Linked DNA regions of Homo sapiens: regions 1 and 2 are each linked to region 3. Evidence: promoter capture Hi-C in 16 types of primary human blood cells and fetal thymus (Javierre and others, 2016). All regions are on one chromosome and are shown on one strand. Each heading gives the region's core, a stretch centred on a gene start or on the middle of the fragment in contact. The rest is flanking DNA. Distances are from core to core; before and after follow the strand shown.

Region 1 (4,479 bases), core at 628-3,127, 500 kb before region 3:
TCATTGCTCAATTCCCACTTATGAGTGAGAACATACGGTGTTTGGTTTTCTGTTCCTGTGTTAGTTTGCTGAGGATGATGGTTTCCAGCTTCATCTATGTCCCTGCAAAGGACATGAACTCATTCTTTTTTACGGCTATGTAGTGTTCCATGGTGTATTGTTTTTCCTTATTCTCACTGGTTGATATTTCGGTTGTTTACCCATTCAGCTATCATGAATAGTGCTGCAGGGAGCCTTTGTGTACACATAGGTTTTCCTATCTTTTAGTTATATAACTGATAGTGTCACATGAATAATTTGCAAATATTTTCTCCCATTCAACAAATTGTCTCATCACTGTTGATTGCTTCCTTTGCTGTGCAGAAGCTCTGTAGTTCAATATGGTCCCATTTTCTAGTATTTGTTTGTTGCTTGTGATTTTGTGGTCTTAGCCATAAAATATCTGGCTAGATCAATGTTCAGGAGGGTTTCTCTTATGTTTTATTCTAGTAGTGTTATAGTTATGGGTTTGTGTTTCAATCTTTTATTTTGAGATGATATATATATCATATATCATATATATTTTTTGAGTTGAGATATATATATATAAATATATATATTTGAAGCTAGACTTCTATCAGTATATATATATACTGATATATATATATATATATATATATATACTGATAGAAGTCTAGCTTCAAATGAATTGAATAGCTTATGCATATAGCTATCCAGTTTTTTCAATACCATTTATTGAAGAGGGTATCCTTCTCCCAACGTATGTTCTTAGTGCCATTGTTGAAAGTCAGTTACTTGTAAATATGTGGTTTTTTTCTGAATTCTCTATTCTGCTCTATTGGTCTCTGTGTCTATTTTTATACCAACACTATGCTTTTGGGGTTGCTCTGACCTTGTATGATATTTTGAAGTCAGGTGGTACAATGTCTTCAGCTTTGTTCTTTTGCTCAGGATTGCTTTGACTCCAGGCTCTTTGTTGGTTCCATACACATTTTAGACTTCTTTTGTGTGTGAAAAAGTTGGCATTTTGATAGTGATTGCATTGAATCTGTAGACTGCTTTGGTCATTTTAACAATATTAATTCTTCTGATCTATGGGCTAAACCACTAGCTAGACAAAAAAATTATGGGCATGGAATCTATGGGCATGCAATGTCCTTTCATTTTTTTATGTACTCTTCAGTATCTTACATCAGTGTTTTTTAGTTCTCCTTGTAGAAGTCTTTCACCACCACAGCTAAATTTATTACTAGGTATTTTAATATTTTGTAGCTATTGTAAATGAGATGGCTTCCTTGACTTCTGTTTCAGCCACTTACTTATTATGTAGAAATGCTCCTGATTTCTGTATGTTGATTTTGTGTCCTGCAACTTTGCTGATCATATTTATCAAATCTAATAGTTTTTTGGTGGCATCTTTATGTTCTTCTAAATATAAGATCATGTCATTTGCACAAAGCAACAATTAAACTTTCACTTTTCCTATTTAGATGCCTTTTATTTCTTTCTCTTGCCTGATTACTTCGGCTAGGACTTCCAGTACTTTGTTGAATAGAAATAGTGAAAATGAACATCGTTGTTTAGTTCTAGTCCCTAGCAGAAAAGATTTAAGCTTTTCCTTATTTAGTATAATGTTACCTGTGGATTTGTCATATATGGCCTTTATTAAGTTGAGGTATGTTCCTGTAGGCCTAGTTTGTTGAGCGTTTCTATCATGAAAAGATGTTAAATTTTGTCAAATGCTCTTTCTGCATCTATTGAGATGATTGTATGGTTTTTGTATTTCATTCTGTTAATGTGATGTATTGTGTTTATGGGTTTGTGTGTGGAAATCCATCCTTCCATCCCTGGGATAAATCCTACTTGATTGTGGCATGTTATCTTTTTGATGTGCTGTTGCATTCAGTTTGCTAGTATTTTGTTGAAGATTTTAACATCTTTATTCATCATATTAAACTGTAGCTTTCTGTTTTCATTGTATCCTTGTATTGTTTTCATATCAGGGTAATGCTTGCTTCATAGAATGAGTTACAAAGAATTCCCCCCCCTTCTATTTTTTGAATACTTTGAGAAAAATTGATATTAGTTCTTCTTTATAAGTTTGGTAGAATTCAGCTGTCAAGTTATCAAGCCCCAAGCTTTTATTTGCAGAGAGACATTTTATTACTGTATCAATCTCATTTCTCATTATTGGTTTGTTTGGGTCTTCTATTTCTCCCTGATTCAATAGTGATAGTTTGTATGTGTCCAGGAATTTAGATATTTTCTCTAATTTTTCCAGTTTGTTATCATGCAATTGTTCTTAGGAGTCTCTGATTATCTTTCATACTTCTTTCTGCAGTATCAGTTGAAATGTCTGCTTTTTCATTTCTGACATTGTTTATTTGGGTCTTTTCTCTATTTTTTGTCTAGCTAGTGGTTTATGAATGTTGTTTCATGTTTTCAAAAAAAGTTTTATTTCATTGGCCCTTTGTATTTTTTTAAGTTTCTAGTTTGCTTACTTCTCCGATTTTTATTATTTCTTTGTTTGTTTGTTTGTTTTGTTTTGTTTTAAGACGGAGTCTTACTCTGTTGCCCAGGTTGGACTGCAGTGGTGCCATCTCGGCTCACTGCAGCCTCTGCCTCCTGGGTTCAAGCAATTCTCCTGCCTCAGCCCCCTGAGTAGTTGGGATTACAGGTGTACTCCACCACACCTGGCTAATTTTTGTATTTTTTAGTAGAGAAGAGGTTTCACCACGTTGGCCAGGCTGGTCTCAAACTCGTGACCTCAGGTGATCCAGCTGTCTCAGTCTCCCAAAGTGCTGGACTACAGGCATGAGCCACTGCACCTTGACTGATTTTTATTATTCCTTATGCTTATGTTGAGCTTAGTTTGTTCTTGCTTTTTTGGTTTCTTGAGGTGTATCATTAGGTTGTTTACTGTAAATATTTCTACTTTTTTGATGTAGGTATTTACTGCTGTAAACTTCCCTCAACACTGCTTTTGCTGCATTTCATAGTTTCCAAAATATTGTGTTTTCATCTTCATTTTTTAAATATTTGTTTGGATTTCTGTATTAACCCAATGGTTGTTCTGGAGCATGTCATTTAATTTTCATGTATTTGTACAGTTTTCAAAGTTCCTTTTGCTACTGATTTTTGGCTTTATTTCACTGTAGTATGAGAAAATACTTGATATGATTTCAATTTTTAAACATTTGTTAAGACTCGTTTTCTGGCCTAACAGAGGGTCTATCCTGAAGACTGTTCCATGTGCTTCTGAGAAGAATGTATGTTTTGCAGTCATTGGATCAAGTGTTCTGCAGATGTCTGTTAGGTTCCTTTGGTCTAAAGCAACGGTGCCTAACCTTTTTGGCACCAGGAACTGGTTTCGTGGAAGACAATTTTTCCTAGGACTAGGGGAGGGGGATGATTTCAGGATAATTTAAGTGCATTACATTTATCATTAGATTCTCATAAGGAGCATACAGCCTGGATCACTGGCATGTGCAGTTCACAATAGGGTTTGAGCTCCTATGACAATCTAATGCTGCTGCTGATCTGACAGGAGGTAGAGCTCAGCTTCACTGGCTCACCTGCCACTCACCTCCTGCTGAGCTTCCTGGTTCCTAACAAGCCAGGGGTGGGTATTGGTCTGTGACCCGACGGTTGGGGACCCCTGGTCTAAAGTACAGTTTAAATCTGATGTTTCATTATTGATTTTCTGTCTAGGTAATCTTCCAGGGCTTGTCTAGTGGTGATGAATTTCTTCAGTTTTTGCTTGTCTGGGAACGTCTTTATTTCTCCTTCATTATGAGGTATAACCTTGCTTAGGCTGTGTTTGCTAGTTGAGGCTGTGGTGAGGTTTTGGTAGGAATGGAACACCAGATAGGCCAGTCCTTCAGCCCCCATGGTGACAGTGGCAGCAGTAAAGGGTTGAGGGTGTCTGTCCTTGGGCTGCTGGGTAGTGTATGTGGGCACTGGTGTTAGTGTGCCTAAGCCTGTTGATTCTCAGGCCTTCAGGAGGCTTGCTCTGATGTCTGTAGTAACAGCAGTGGGCTAGGAAATGGGGCAAGTCCTCAGGCCTCTGAGCAGTGTGTACCGTGTGGATGAGGAGAGTAGTGGGGTTGAGGCAACTTCAGGCTTCCAGGCAGCACTCACAGTGTTTGTGGTGGCTGCAATGGGCTGAATCAGACAGTCCCTAGAGCCTTAGGTGACACATGAGTGTGGATGCTGGTGGTTGTCTGGGTGGGCCCATCCTTAGGACCCCAAGAGTACCCAGATGACAGCAGTGGTGGATGGCATGGGAGATTCCTAGACCTTTAGACAGCATGCTTGAGTGCTGGCTGCACATTTTCTTGGCCTGTTTTTAGGACCCTGGTGGACTCATGCCAGAGGCTACCACCTGTACAATGCTGTCCTCAGGTCCACAAGTGGAATATTTGACCACTAAGGGTGGGAGAGAGGCAGGTGAGGTGGGCCTGTTCTCAAGTCCTCCTA
Region 2 (4,451 bases), core at 1,749-4,248, 390 kb after region 3:
TCCTGCAGATGTGCTCCGGCTGGCTGCCCTGTGCCTCTTCCTGGTGCTTCTCATGGTTCGTAACCACAGGTTTTCCTAGGTATTCTCTCTTTTTTTTTTTTTGAGACAGGGTCTCGCTCTGCCACCCAGGCTGGAGTGCAGTGGTGTGATCTTGGCTCACTACAACCTCTGCCTCCTGGGCTCAAGTGATCCTCCCACCTCAGCCTCCCGAGCAGCTGGGATCACAGGTGTGCGCCACCACGCCTAGCTAGTTTTTGTAATTTTTGTAGAGACAGGGTTTCATCATGTTGCCCAGGCTGGTCTTTTTTTTTTTTTTTGAGACAGAGTCTCGCTCTGTCGCCCAGGCTGGAGTGTAGTGGTGCGATCTCGGCTCACTGCAAGCCTCTGCCTCCTGGGTTCACGCCATTCTCCTGCCTCAGCCTCCTGAGTAGCTGGCACTACAGGTGCCTGTCACCATACCTGGCTAATTTTTTGTATTTTTTAGTAGAGATGGGGTTTCAACCATGTTAGCCAGGATGGTCTCGATCTCCTGACCTCATGATCCACCCGCCTTGGCCTCCCAAAGTGCTGGGATTACAGGCGTAAGCCACCGCGCCCGGCCTCCTATGTATTTCTTACTCAATGAAGATGTCTTTCCCTGTAGACTGTAAGCATGATGAGAGTGAGAACACTGCCTGTGAGGCTCAGCAACCCATCCCCTGCACCTACTGTTTGGCTGCGATGAGCACTCAAAAAAATATCTACTGCTTGAAAGAGCGGTTCCCTCAGCAGGCTAAGCTATGCGAATGTGCTAGAGTATAACAACTAGACGTACAAATGAACAAAGAAAAGCAGCTAGGACCAAGTTCTGTGTTATGTTAATACTTGTTTTCTACCTATTTGCCCATTTAATAACCTGCACTTGTTCACTACTCACTGAAGAACAGGCTTAAGAAAAATTAGGAGGAAGAACTTATTCAACTGGGCACTTTCTCCTTAATTTACTTGAGAAGAGACCAACCCATTTTACTTTAGTATGCAGCTTAGCCTGGGGTTCTGTAAACCACCATGACGGTACAGTTTGAAGTGTGTCAGACAATCAATGTCTCTAGAAGGTAGTGACAGGAGATGGTGACATTTTCTTTGTATGTTTTTCTAATAAAGTCACACACTTGTACACAATAAATGCAAGCACCACTGTTTTCTCTCTCTCTCTCACACACACAGCGATCTAACCGACAGCCCTGTGGCACCTACCTGCAGGCCTTGCTGGAGACGCCTCCTGTTCGGGCAGGGGTGTGACTGGGGAGCCTGCAACCCTTTCCGGCACTGGCACCTCCACAGGTGCTGGCGTGGGCACTGGGACTTCTCTGGGGGGCGGGGAGGCTGAGGGAAGGGCTGCTGGCCGCTCCTCTTCCTCTTCATCTTCAGAGGAGGACTCAGAGGATGAAGAGGACGAGGAGGATGAGGACGAGGAGGAGGAGGAGGATGAGGAGCTGGAAGAGCTGCTGCTCTCGGAGTCTGATGTGCTGTCATTTTCGCCATCTGAGTCAGCATACAGAGAACATTTGGAAGACGAATCGCTTTCCTCGTCCTCGCCTGGAAATCCAGAAGGGGCAGTCAGGAGAGGTGGGCAGACCTCACTTGGCCAGCCGTGGGCTCCTCACTCACTCCCTGCTGTGGATGCTGGGCTCTGGGCTAGGGACGGGGAAGTCCAACAGACCAAGGAGCTGCATAAGCAAACCATTTTCACTGTGAGATAAACATCAGCATGCGGGGAGGATGGCAAAGGAAGCCCCAGACTCTGTCTGAAGAGGCCCGAAAAGGAAAGCATCCCAGGGGACAAGCTGAACTCAAGGACAAGGAGTCCACCACACAGACATGGGGACTGCACAGGGATGTCGGAAGCAAGAGGAAGTGGAGGCTTGGAGACTGGGAAGCAGGCTGCTCTGGCACTCAAACCTTCCTAAAGTGGGTCTCAGGACCCAGTCTGGACGAAGGATTGGGTGAAAAAGGATTCTGGGCTGAAAAGGTTAAAAAACACGACAGGCTCTATATTCTGAGACTGCTCATGTACGGGAAGGACTCGAAAAAACTGAAGAATTTCACAGTTTTTGAGGAACAGAATTGGATAAGTTAGACTAGAAGGTGGTGGCAGCTGGGGAGCGGACTGGAGGAGGGCGAGATGGAGCTGAACAGAGCAGGGCCAGGAGATAAACGGCCCATGGTGTTGGCCTGGGGGGACACCCTGTGGAGAACAAGTTGCCAGGAAGGACCTTATGGAGGGAAGTCACAGGGTCAGGAGTGCATTTTAGGAAAGAGATTCTATAAGCAGTTTGGAAAATGGACTGGAACAGAGGGAGAAGGACAGAAAGAGAGACAGGGAAATCAGTCAAGACTGCTGCAAGAGGCTGCGTGCAGTGGCTCACAGGTGAAAGCCTAGCACTTTGGGAGGCCGAGGTGGGTGGATCACTTGAGGTCATGAGTTTGGGACCAGCCTGGCCAACATGGTAAAACCCCATCTCTGCTAAAAATACAAAAATTAGCCAGGTGTGGTGGCTCACACCTGTAATCCCAGCGCTTTGGGAGGCTGAGGCAGGAAAATCGCTGGAACCAGGGAGGCGGAGGTTGCAGTGAGCCAAGATCACATCACTGCACTCCAGCCTGGGTGACAAAGCGAGACTCTGTCTCAAAAAAAAAAAAAAAAAATCTGGGTGTGGTGGCTCACGCCTGTAATCCCAGCACTTCCAGAGGCTGAGGTGGGTGGATCGCCTGAGCTCAGGAGTTCAAGACCAGTCTGGCCAACATAGTGAAACCCTGTCTCTACTAAAAATACAAAAAATTAGCTGGGGGTGGTGGTGGGTGCCTGTAATCCCAGCTACAACGGAGGCTGAGGCAGGAGAATCTCTTGAACTCAGGAGGCGGAGGTTGCAGTGAGCCGAGATTGCGCCATTGCACTCCAGCCTGGGCGACAAGAGCGAAACTCTCTCAAAACAACAACAACAACAACAACAAAAAACAAAACAAAAAAAGCGTTCTGCCAGGCTGTCCTTTTGGACAGCTATGTCTCAGCAGAAGAGGGAGCAGGAGGGAGCATTTTGAGCACTGAGCTTATTGCTGTCAAGGGGCCAAGGGTTCCTAAGAATGTGGCCCAAACAGATGCCCTTGCAGAAGGCAAAGGTGACCCACAAGCCCAGCAGGAAGGTCATGTGGGCTCAGAAAAGGGCTAGCCAGGCAGCCGAACCCCTCCTCCGAGCCCAAAGTCGATTTCACTGTCTTGTGCTCACCATCCGACACCTCTGTCTCCTTCTTTGTGGTATCCACAGCTTCCTCTCGATCTTCATCTTCCTCATCTTCCTCGTCATCCTCCTCATCCTTAAGAAAAAAGACAAATGAGGACTAACAGGAAGGGGACAACTGGTCCTACACCAGGCACAGCTGCCTGGGCTCCAACCACAAAGATGCTGGCTATGGGAAGTAGGCTTCGGCCAGGAGCCGGCGCCCGGGCCCTCACCTTCTCCGAGGAGGACTCCTGGGATGCCTCCTCCCCTTCGCTGTCCAGAGCAAAGGACTTGCGGTGCTTGCCCTGGGTCTTGCCTCGCTCTTCGTCCCGCTTCGGGGGCTTGGTCCCCGGACGTCCTGGCTCTCCAGCCTCCTTCTCTTGTTCAGGGTCTAGGCCAGCAGAGTGGTAGTTGGGGAAATTTACCATCAACCACAAGATACTTGCCCTGTGCAAGGGGCTTTACATATACTATTACCAATCTTCCTGATGGTCTTCATTTCACAGATGAGAATTTGGAAGCTCACCAGAGGAACTCAAACACCTCAGTTACCTCATGTTTCATAGTTTTGTATTTGTTTTTGTTTTTGGGACGGGGTCTTGCTCTGTCACTCAGGCTGGGGTGCAGTGGCATGACCACAGCTCACTGCAGCCTCAACCTGCTGGGCTCAAGCGATCCTCCTGCCTCGGTCTCCTGAGTAACTGGGACTATACAGGGGCATGCAATCATACCCAGCTAATTTTTAAAAATTTTTGTAGAGACAGGGTCTACCTATGTTGCTCAGGCTGGTATTGAACTCCTGGGTTCAAGTGATCCTCCTGCCTCAGCCTCCTGGAGTGCTGGGATTATAGGCGTGAGCCATCGTGCCTGGCATATATATATATATTTTTTTTTTTGAGACGGAGTCTCGCTTTGTCGCCAGGCTGGAGTGCAGTGGCACAATCTCAGCTCACAGCAGCCTCTGCCTCCCGGGTTCAAGCAATTCTCCTGCCTCAGTCTCCCAAGTAGCTGGGACTATAGGCACCCGCCACCACGCCTGGCTAATTTTTCTATTGTTAGTAGAGACGGGGTTTCACCATGTTGGCCAGGATGGTCTCGATCTCTTGACCTTGTGATCCACCCGCCTCGGCCTCCCAAAGTGCTGGGATTACAGGTGAGCTCCACCCTGCCTGGCCTTAATATATACAGATA
Region 3 (4,013 bases), core at 1,504-4,003:
CTCAACCTGCATGTGCACACGCACACACACATACATGCACACACATGCATGTACATGTGTGCATGTGCACATGTATACACATGCATACATATACACACATGTACACACACACACGTTGCTCACACTGCACTTTCACTGACCTTTCCTAAACTACGGCACAAACCAATTGGTCATATCCCAGGACCCATTGGATGAAAATAGATCCTCTCCTCTAAAAATAACAACAGCTGGCCTTCATGGGGCTGTCGCCTGGTGCTAGCTGCTGTGCTAACCCCTGGCCATGAATCATCCTGTGTTGCTTTCAGTGCTGGGTGTGTTATTATCCCCATCCAACAGATGAAGAAACTGAGGCTTGGAGAGGTTAAGGTCACAGGAAAGGTCCGGCAGCGTGCGGGCGATCGGCAGGATGTGCGGGCAGCAGCGTCAGGAACCACTGCAACACGTGGTAACTCTTTTTCCAGATCCCTTCTTTCTGATCCACTCTGGCAAGACTGTCTCTAGCCCACCGCACCCCCAATTGGATGTGCGTGAGCTCCTCAAAGCCTTGGTGGTCCCGACACTCACCCTGCCTGGACACCGGGAGCCTCTGGGTGAGCTGGGTGGGGCCCAGGAGGAAGCAGAGTCCGGTGAGGTACATGTTCCTCCCGCACTCGTGGTGCACGGTGGGGCCGCAGGCCTGGGGACACAGCGGGCTGCTGGGGGGCTGCCCCTGCTTCCTCCCACCCTCACATTCCGGAACCTCCACCCTACAGGAGACTCCCAGCCCCCCGCGGCCCCGGCTCCTCCCTCCCTCCCTCAGAAGCCTCCTGTGACCCAGGGCCACTCACCAGCAGCTGGGAAGGGCTGGTGGTAGACGCCAGGGACAGGCCCAGGGACATGTTCACGGCCTCCGGGGGCACTGTGGGGACAGATATGTGCATGGTCACTCTCGGGGGTACAGAGAAGGCTGTGGAAGAGCTGGGCAGGGGTCACCTCCACCTGGGAGACAAGGAGGTCTGACGGTGAAGGAAGCTGTCGGGTCTTGACAGAGCTGCGGGAGTGCGATGGGCGGGGAGGCCTTAAGGGGCCAGGAAGCATATCTGAGGGTGAGGGTCTCAGACACAGTGGAAGCTGAAAGTGACACTCCGGTGAGTCCACGGGCCCCTGGAGCAGGGAAGCCTGGGAGCCCGGCCCTGGGTCCCGGGAGGGGCGGTGACTCACCCTGCAGGCCGATGGGCTCACAGGCACCAGTGCTGTAGCCACACTGGTAGAGGCCACCCGTTTGGTTGGCAGCTGTTATCTTTTGGGGGGCTCCAACCACCACCCTGCGAGGAGACAAAGAACACTTTAGGTAAGAGTGTGGACGCTGCAGCACAGCTGCCACTCCGGCAAGTTTGCGTTCCCTCCCTGAGCCTCAGCTTCCTCATCTGCAAGATGGATTTTAATAATTTAAAGTCCATGTGGAAGGGATTTCTGTCTGTTGGATTCTCTGGCGTATGGAGACAAGAAATATTTGTTGAGTCTGGGTGTGGTGGCTCACACCTGGAATCCCAGCACTTTGGGAGGCTGAGGCGGGAGGATTGCTTGAGCCCAGGAGTTTGAGACCAACCCAGGCAACATAGTGAGACCCTGTCTCTATATATTTTTAAATGTATAGAAAAAAAGAAAGAAAAAACAAATAAGTGTTTGTTGCACGACTGATTCCTACTCACAGGCTGTCGTGTGGACTAAATCAGCATCCACCTGTGATGAGCCTGGCACTGCACTTACTGCTCTGTAAATGTTAGCTGTGAGACCGTGCCTGCCTTCAAGGCAAATCTTCATTAGCCAGGGCAGTCGCTACACCAGACAGAGAGGAGAGTTTGCAAATAACAGGGCAGGGCCGGGGGCATGGGGCCCTGAGCAGGGAGAGGATGGATGGAGCCAAAGGCCAGCACCACCTGGGCCTCACCAGGAGTTGGCATACTGGACCACGCTGTCTCCAAACCCAGCGCTGTCCACACGGAAGGCTGTCAGCTCCTCTGTGTCCAAGTTGAAACCTAGAGAAGTTGCTAAGGCTGGGAAAGAGGTGGGAAGAGAGCTTTGGAGAAGGGTCTTCCTTCTGCCTGGCTGCCCTCCACCCCCGGCCCCAGCGTCCCAATCTCCCCTCCGAGCCTGATGCCCGGGGTGCCTGGGTCTTCTGGACACCCAACTCATCCCCTTCTCTCCTTCCCAGGGTCCAGGGATGCCCCTTGCCCACCATCCACTATCGAGTTGCAGTTCTCCATTTCTGCAGAGCAGTACCCAGGCTCTAAAAAGGATCTTTCCCCAACGTGCACCTCGGGCGCTATGAGAGTGAGTCCAGGAAAACTTGCGGACCAAAGCATCCTGTCCACAGAGCACAAGTTGGCGCATTCTGCCTATTTTAAAAATCTCTGCAGTACAGAGACAACTGGCCTCTCTTCCAGCATCTCTGGAACTCTCCCAAAATTGGTTCATCAATATCCTCTCCCTCCACAAACTCCAAATCTCAGACCCTATGTGCCTGCCTCCCCCTCAGGCTTGACTGAGTCTCTCTTCCTACCCAGATCCTAACCCCCCAGCCTGAGCCCCCAGTTCAGGGCCCTGGCTCCCTTGGGCCTGGGTCCCCAGCCCTACTTCATTGGGGTCCAGGCTCACCTGTGAACAGGAGGAGTGCTGCCCTGGTCCTGGTCATGACTAGAAGGTCAGATGTGGAGCTCTGAGCTCCTGGGCCGTTGCAGGAAGAGCTGGACCAAGGTACTGAGGAAGCAAGTGGGCAGAGAGGTGGCCAGGGGAAGGAAGAAGATTGTCAGCATGAGTCAGAGGGGGCGGGCAGAGTACGCAACTGATCCGAGGACAGGCTCGGCCTCCCACACGCCCCCACCCCCCAACCGGAGTCACTCTCATCAGATGACTTGGCTTGATGCCCTTTGCTTAGATGGATGCAAATCCCTGCCCTGCCCCTCCCAGGCTCACCCTTGACTGCCAGAAGGCACCCCTTGACCTTGAAATTTCAGCCAGACTGGAGGGGGTTTGGGCAGATGCCAACCCCTCAGGACCCTAAAGGAAACCCTGGTGGGAGCCCTCCACTCTGACCTGGAAAGTCTGGGCCAAGGAGTGGGGCATCCGGGTCCCTAGGAGGAGCACAGAGCGAGTATTTGTTCATTCATTCATTCACTCATTTATTCATCATTTATTCAAGAAGCCTAATTTGAGCCTGGAGATGCAAGCCCTCTGCTAGGTGGGGAAGAAAATATAAACCACAAAGCACCAGCCCTGGGGTCAGTGGAGAGGCAGATGTATAAACAGCAAGTTCATTGCTGTGAGGGGGAAGCACAGAGACCACAGGGTGCCTCACCCGGGTTGTGAAGGTGTGGCTTTCTGAGAAGGCTTCCTGAAAGAGGTGGTGCTTGAGCTGAGCATTGAAAGCAACCAAAGTTGGGAGATGACAGAGCAGCCAGACATGGATGAGGCAGGGGACAGGAGGGTCTGTGTGTGAAATCAGCAATGGGAACCAGACAGTCAGGGTGGGAAGTTGTAAGAGACAAGGTCAGGGCCACTGGGAGGAAAGCAAGGGGAAGCAGGCCTCAGGCCGTGGAAGCCCCCCTAATGTACATCAATTTTTTTTTTTAATTTCAGAAACAGGGTCTTGCTCTGCCACCCAGGCTGGAGTGCAGTGGGTGCATAGTTCACTGCTGCTTCGAACTCCTGGGCCCAAGGGATCCTCCTGCCTCAGCCTCCTGAGTAGCCAGGACTATAGGATTGCACCACTGCACCTGAATATATATATATATTTATATATATATATTTTTTAATTTTAGTAGAGACAGAGTTTCCCCATGTTGGCCAGGCTGGTCTCAAACTCCTGATCTCAATCAATCCTCCTGCCTCAGCCTCCTAAATTGCTGGGATCACAGGTGTGAGCCACCACACCTGGTGAAGACACATTGATTTTGTCCTGAGAGTGGAGGACAGCATTGAAGGGAATTCATGGGGACTGAGATCTTCACATTTTCATTTTAGAAAGTGGGTTA

Evidence for each region. Contacts are between HindIII fragments. The CHiCAGO score rates a contact against its expected background, and 5 or more counts as called.
Region 1: a fragment that was not itself captured here is called in contact with the fragment with the promoter of ITGAX in region 3 in 1 of 17 cell types (total B cells); the score reaches 6.1 in total B cells.
Region 2: a fragment that was not itself captured here is called in contact with the fragment with the promoter of ITGAX in region 3 in 2 of 17 cell types (monocytes and total CD8 T cells); the score reaches 6.2 in monocytes.

What each region holds. Positions count from the first base shown.
Region 1 is chr16:31,854,684-31,859,162 of GRCh38, reverse strand. No RefSeq gene overlaps it. Among named protein-coding and RNA genes, the nearest start is that of ZNF267, 17 kb to the left of the region's middle. The HindIII fragment of the contact is 526 bases long and covers 1,615-2,140 here.
Region 2 is chr16:30,968,505-30,972,955 of GRCh38, reverse strand. It overlaps SETD1A (SET domain containing 1A, histone lysine methyltransferase), which reads right to left. Exons shown (of 19, transcript NM_014712.3): 11 at 3,494-3,651; 12 at 3,267-3,354; 13 at 1,237-1,578. Among named protein-coding and RNA genes, the nearest start is that of SETD1A, 13 kb to the right of the region's middle. The HindIII fragment of the contact is 6,620 bases long and covers 1-4,451 here.
Region 3 is chr16:31,353,916-31,357,928 of GRCh38, reverse strand. ITGAX (integrin subunit alpha X) reads right to left here and starts at 2,753. Exons shown (of 30, transcript NM_000887.5): 1 at 2,638-2,753; 2 at 1,931-2,036; 3 at 1,201-1,304; 4 at 828-898; 5 at 565-676. The coding sequence starts at 2,674. RefSeq lists enhancers at 2,982-3,171, 3,362-3,491. The HindIII fragment of the contact is 18,983 bases long and covers 1-4,013 here.